2 separate regions of the Homo sapiens genome follow, and region 1 is linked to region 2. Evidence: promoter capture Hi-C in 16 types of primary human blood cells and fetal thymus (Javierre and others, 2016). All regions are on one chromosome and are shown on one strand. Each heading gives the region's core, a stretch centred on a gene start or on the middle of the fragment in contact. The rest is flanking DNA. Distances are from core to core; before and after follow the strand shown. Region 1 holds the start of GRIPAP1 (GRIP1 associated protein 1). Region 2 holds the start of FOXP3 (forkhead box P3).

The links. Contacts are between HindIII fragments. The CHiCAGO score rates a contact against its expected background, and 5 or more counts as called.
Region 1: the fragment with the promoter of GRIPAP1 here is called in contact with the fragment with the promoter of FOXP3 in region 2 in 1 of 17 cell types (total CD8 T cells); the score reaches 6.0 in total CD8 T cells.

What each region holds. Positions count from the first base shown.
Region 1 is chrX:49,000,834-49,003,533 of GRCh38, forward strand. It overlaps GRIPAP1 (GRIP1 associated protein 1), which reads right to left and starts at 1,431. Exons shown (of 26, transcript NM_020137.5): 1 at 1,355-1,431. The coding sequence starts at 1,396. RefSeq lists an enhancer at 1,440-1,549. The HindIII fragment of the contact is 9,873 bases long and covers 1-1,772 here.
Region 2 is chrX:49,263,277-49,265,976 of GRCh38, forward strand. It overlaps FOXP3 (forkhead box P3), which reads right to left and starts at 1,434. Exons shown (of 12, transcript NM_014009.4): 1 at 1,385-1,434. The HindIII fragment of the contact is 2,410 bases long and covers 308-2,700 here.

The DNA.
Region 1 (2,700 bases), core at 181-2,680, 260 kb before region 2:
CCTCCCACGCCACCAGCCTCCACTCACTGTTCTCTGGTAGTCTGCTCAAGGTCAGAGGGCTTGGCCTTCACAGAATCTTTCCTACTCCTGTCCTCTCCAGGACCCAGTGATCTGTCTCTCCAAGTACTGGTCCAAGTGGAATATCCTTTGTACCCCCCGAGACTTGCCCCCCAACAAAGCCCAGTAGTTCTCCCTCATTCATGGCCCAGTGGGATCAATGTTCCTCATTCAAGGGTATTCCCACTCCCCTCAAGATCTCCCCAGTCATGATCCATTGGGAATGGCCCTACACCCTTCAGGGTAGGCCTCTACAAGGCCTTGGGTAGGCCAGTTGGATGACTCTTACTCACTTAGAATCCCTTTCAGATGACAGTGGTCTTCCCCATTCATGGGTTAATCAACTCGCCCTTCCATTCTCAGTGTCCCTCACACAGGGACAGCTGGTTTCCCTCATTCAAGGACCAATTGGATTACCTGTCCTCCCTCAGAGTTCCTCCCCTCCCCATGCAGGACCCTGTTCAGACCCCCCCCCCAGTGAGGAACCCTCTCAACAAGGGCCCATTCATAGTGCAATGCTATGGCCTTTCATTGCATCTCAGAGTCCCCCCAAAAGAATCAAGTGGGGGTACCTCCCCAAAGCCCAGTGATCTTCCCTCCTTGTAGTCCAAGGTATCAATCTTTTACCCCTCTGGTCCTCCCCCCAGTTAATGGGATTAATGGTATTACCCATTCATGGCCTTCTTCACCCCAGGCCTAATGGGATCACCCTTAATCATCCAATGGTGCCGCCCCCTCTTAGGATGCACTACCAACCACCAATGGCACAGGATCTCCACCTCCCAGGAACAATGACAACATCTGGGGTCTTTCCCCAATCCCCGGGCACAGTGGTATCTCCCCCAAAACTTACCACCTCCCACCCGCTAATGGTTCTGCCCTCTCAAGGGCTCCCACCACCATGACGCAAACGACCCAACACCCGCTTCCTTCCTCTCCAGACAAAATGGTTTCGCCTTCTCAGGATCTCCTTCCCTCAAAGCCCATTATCATCACCCGCCGACGGTGTCCCCTGCACGGGCCCAAAAGTCTCGTCCCCTCCAGGTCTGAGTAAGGTACCGCCTACTTAATGGCGCTCTCCCAGCCCACAATGCTAACAGAGTCCAACCTTCAAAGCCGCAGAGTATCTCGGAATCCAATAGTCTCACCACTCCGAGCCTCAGTTTCCCTTCTCCAGACCCACCCCATAAACTCAGGGTCCATCCCAACCAACCCCTTCTCAGAGCTGATAGCACGACCTCTCGCTACCCCGCCCCCGGTCGCCTAGCCGGGTGGTCTTTCCCACCGCGAGCGGCACCTGCATCCGCTGAAACTCCTCCTCAGACAGAGCTTGCGCCATGTTCCTCCCCCCACCCCCCCGCCAGCTTTCTGCGCAGACGCAGCTCGCGCCTCCTGGCAGTATTAAGGTCGGACCAAACCACTGGCCAGGAATGGAGGGGGTAGAACCTAATTCCGAAGGGCAGCATTTTGGAGACGCAGAGAAGAGAACGAAACCGACGAGTCAGGTGAACTGTAATACAACGTTCTACCCGAATGTAAGTCATCTGATTGGCTTTTGGACTCTTCTAGGCCACCCATTGTGATACGACATTATTACATCCCCGTTTCATGGGTGGACTCGTCGCTAGGGAAGTCTTTGCCGACAGAAAATCACCCTTCCGCGGTATTCCTTTAATGAGAATGGGTAACTTAATAACCATAGAAATGAAAGCGGAAGCTTCGCTCTGGTCTTGTTCCCGCCCCTCCTCCGGGAGACCCCAAAGGGGAATCCCACCTCTTGTAAAGCCTTTGGCCTTTTTTTTTTTTTTTTTTTTTAAGGTTTGACACTTATTTTGTTATCATGATACTGCATGTCACGTTAGGTAAAGGACTTAGCCACCAATAAAAATAGCAGAGTGGAAAGAGTGACAGTGAATCAAACGAAAAAGCTACATTAAAACAAAACAAAAACAAAAAACAAACCAGGGTGGTGAAACACCAGGCTCATTCAAGTATTAGAATTCACTATAACCCTCACCGATCTGAGAGTAAGAAATGGTATCTCAGTGTAGTTTTTTTCTTATTTTCTTTTTTCTTTCTGTTTTTGTTGTTGTTGTTGTTGTTGTTTTTCTTTTTTGAGACGGAGTTTCACTTTTGTTGCCCAGGCTGGAGTGCAGTGGCACGATATCCGATCACAGCAACCTCCGCTTGGCGAGTTCAAGCGATTCTCCTGCCTCAGCCTCCCGAGTAGCTGGGATTACAGGCGCCCGCCACCTCGTCCGGGTAATTTTTTTTTTTTTTTTTAGTAGAGACGGGGTTTCTCCATATTGGTCAGGCCGGTCTCGAACTCCCGACCTCAGGTAGTCCGCCCGCCTCGGCCTCCCAGAGTGCTGGGATTAAGGCGTGAGCCACCGCGCCCAGCCTTCTTATTTTCGTAGAATTTAATGATTTCCCTGCTGTGGAAAAATATTTCCAGCAGGGCCGGGCGCGGTGGCTCACGCCTGTAATCCCAGCACTTTGGGAGGCCAAGGAGGGCTGTTCACTTGCGGTCAGGAGTTCGAGACTAACCTGGCCAACATGGTGAAACCCCATCTCTACTAAAAACACAAAAATTGGCCGGGTGTGGTGGTGGGCGCCTGTAATCCCAGCTACTCGGAAGGCTGA
Region 2 (2,700 bases), core at 184-2,683:
GGGAAATAATTAAAACATAATAATACTCACCTAGGGTTAGCTTAAGTAGAGGGAGCATAAAATAGGACAACCTTTTGGAAGGAGAATTAGCAGAGAGGGTCATAAACTTTAAAAATGCACGCCCCCTTTGCCCCAGCAACTCCCTTTTCAGGAATCCAAGGAAGCAGTCAGGGATGTTTATAGAAAAAAACGAGAAACAACCGGAATGTCCAACAATCGGCACTTGGTCAAATCAATCAAAGTTCATGCTGATGTGAGGACAGTCTTGTCCATCATGAAAGATCATGTGTTCAAACAATTTTTAGTAAGCTTCAAAAACACTACTGTTAATTGAATAAAGCAGGAACAAAACCAATATATAGCATGATTCTAATTTGGTTACAGAAATACTAATAGCTAACACTTCGTGAGCACTTACTTTGTGCCAAACGCTGTGCTAAGCCTGCAGAATCGAGCTCACCCCAGCCCTGAACAACCTGTTTGCTTCCTGAATATGGACTCTGGTCACACACATGCAGTCCTGGGGTAGGTCCACACAGCTAAACTACGGTTGACAATGGTGTGAAGTGCTCCCTGCCCCCCCGCCCCAAGGGTCTCCTCTAAAGCGATACAAGCAAAGTTCAGTTAAGTGCTCAGCTTGCCCCGGCACCTTGCAATCCTCCTGCTACTAGGGTGAACAGAACTGATGCTCACTCTCATAAAATGTAAAGGTCCTCGGCGACATTACTATTATTAAACGCCAGCTGTGTACAAAGCTCTAGGCTGGATGCTGGCTGGGAAGGCAGGTGGGGGAAGGCAAGAAAAGAGAGCGGGAGAGATGGAGGAAAGGAGATCGATGGAGTGTGGTCAAGATGGAGGAGACAGAGATAGGGGAGATGGTCAGAGGCCAGGAGAGATGCGGGGAAAGAGAGTCTGAGTGTAGCGACAGACAGATGGCGGGAGAAAGAGAGGCAGAGAAACATGTAAAAGAGCAAGACAGGGTGAGCAGAGAGACAGAGAAGGATGAGAGGCATCAAGAGCTAAGAGACAAAGAGATGAGAGAGATGCAGTTGAAATTTTCAGTTGCACCTGGACAGCATTTCAAGTTGTTCAAAGCTCTGAAATCCATAAAGACTGGCAGCTGACATATTTTAAAAATCCTATCCATCTACGTATCAATTGATGAATTCATTTATTTTTGCCCCTGCCCATGCATTAAGTACTTCACCTTTAAGTCTTCTGCCATTTATTCTATTATTTTTTTAAAGACCTTACCTGGCTGGAATCACGGTAGCTGGGTACATCCCACTGTACCAGAGGGCCCCTGACCCCCCCGCCGTGCCTACCTCCCTGCCATCTCCTCCAATGGGGCCCACATCTGGTAGGGGAGAGCAGGGACACTCACCTTGGTGAAGTGGACTGACAGAAAAGGATCAGCCTGGCTTGTGGGAAACTGTCACGTATCAAAAACAACTTTGCTTTTATACCGAGAAGAAAAACCACGCTGTACGGTGTGGAAGCCGCAGACCTCTCTCTTCTAATAATCCAAATTTTTTTCGATGAGTGTGTGCGCTGATAATCACGGGGTGGGGAGGGGTTCTCATAGTTTTTTTTTTCTCTCTCTCTGTGTTTCTCCTTTTCTTGATTATGAGACTTAAACGGAAATTTTGAAATTTTGGGTTTTTTTCTTTGCCCTTTACGAGTCATCTGAAAATATGATTTCTTCCCCTCACCACAGAGGTGAGAGGTATCAATGAGATAATAGGGCTCATGAGAAACCACAGTTTTTAAAACAAAAGTGTATAGAGTTTGAAAAAAAAAAAACAAGGGAAAAGAACTAAAATAAATCACAGGGCCAACCCGAGGCAGGCAGAGACACCATTCTGTGAGTGAGAGGATATTTGAGGGTCTCTGGGGAAAGAAAGAGAATCTGAAGCTCTATGTGTGGATGGGAAATGCCAGGGAAAGAGACAGAATAGGGCTGGGTTCCCAGAGGCCTCGCCCTACTCCAGGCCTCAGTTTCCCTATAGATGGAATTGATATGGTCCCCATTGCTTGAACTACCCGGCGAGGGGAGTTCTGCACCCCCTGCAACACCCCTCCCACAGAGGGTGAGGGGCATGTAAGTTACTTCATGGAGGAGAAAGCGGAGAGCCCACTGTCATCCCCTAAAATTCATGGACTTGAAGAGTCGGAGAATCCCTGGCTCCCAGAATCTACTGACAGTTACTGAATGAGGAAAGAGAGAAAAGTCTCGCCTCATCACGTTTTAGGGCTTGAGTGCCCTGACCCAGCCACTGTCCCACTGGGAAGGTCCCTAGCAGGTCCCCAATATTAATGCATCCATCCTCACGATGAACCCCAGAGGCCCATTGGGACCCTGACCCTCTTGTTTCAGGAACATCATGGCCTGATGCTTCTGAGGCCCTCAGCCTTTGGGGTCTTTTACTTCAAAAAGCCCCAGTTTCCAAGGATTTAGGATTCCAAATATCCGCCATCATCTCAGTAGCTGATGTTTATCTTGAATTTTCCATGGGTCAGATACAGTGCTGAACATGTCTCACAAGTGATCATGTTCAATCCTCACCATGGCCCCTTGAGCTCCATCTCATCATTATTGTATTCCTGTTATACAGATGAGGGAAACGGAGGTATAAGTAGTCAAGCAACTTGCCCAAGATCACAGAGCTGGCGAGTGTGGGTCCCGCTTTCTTTGGTGCT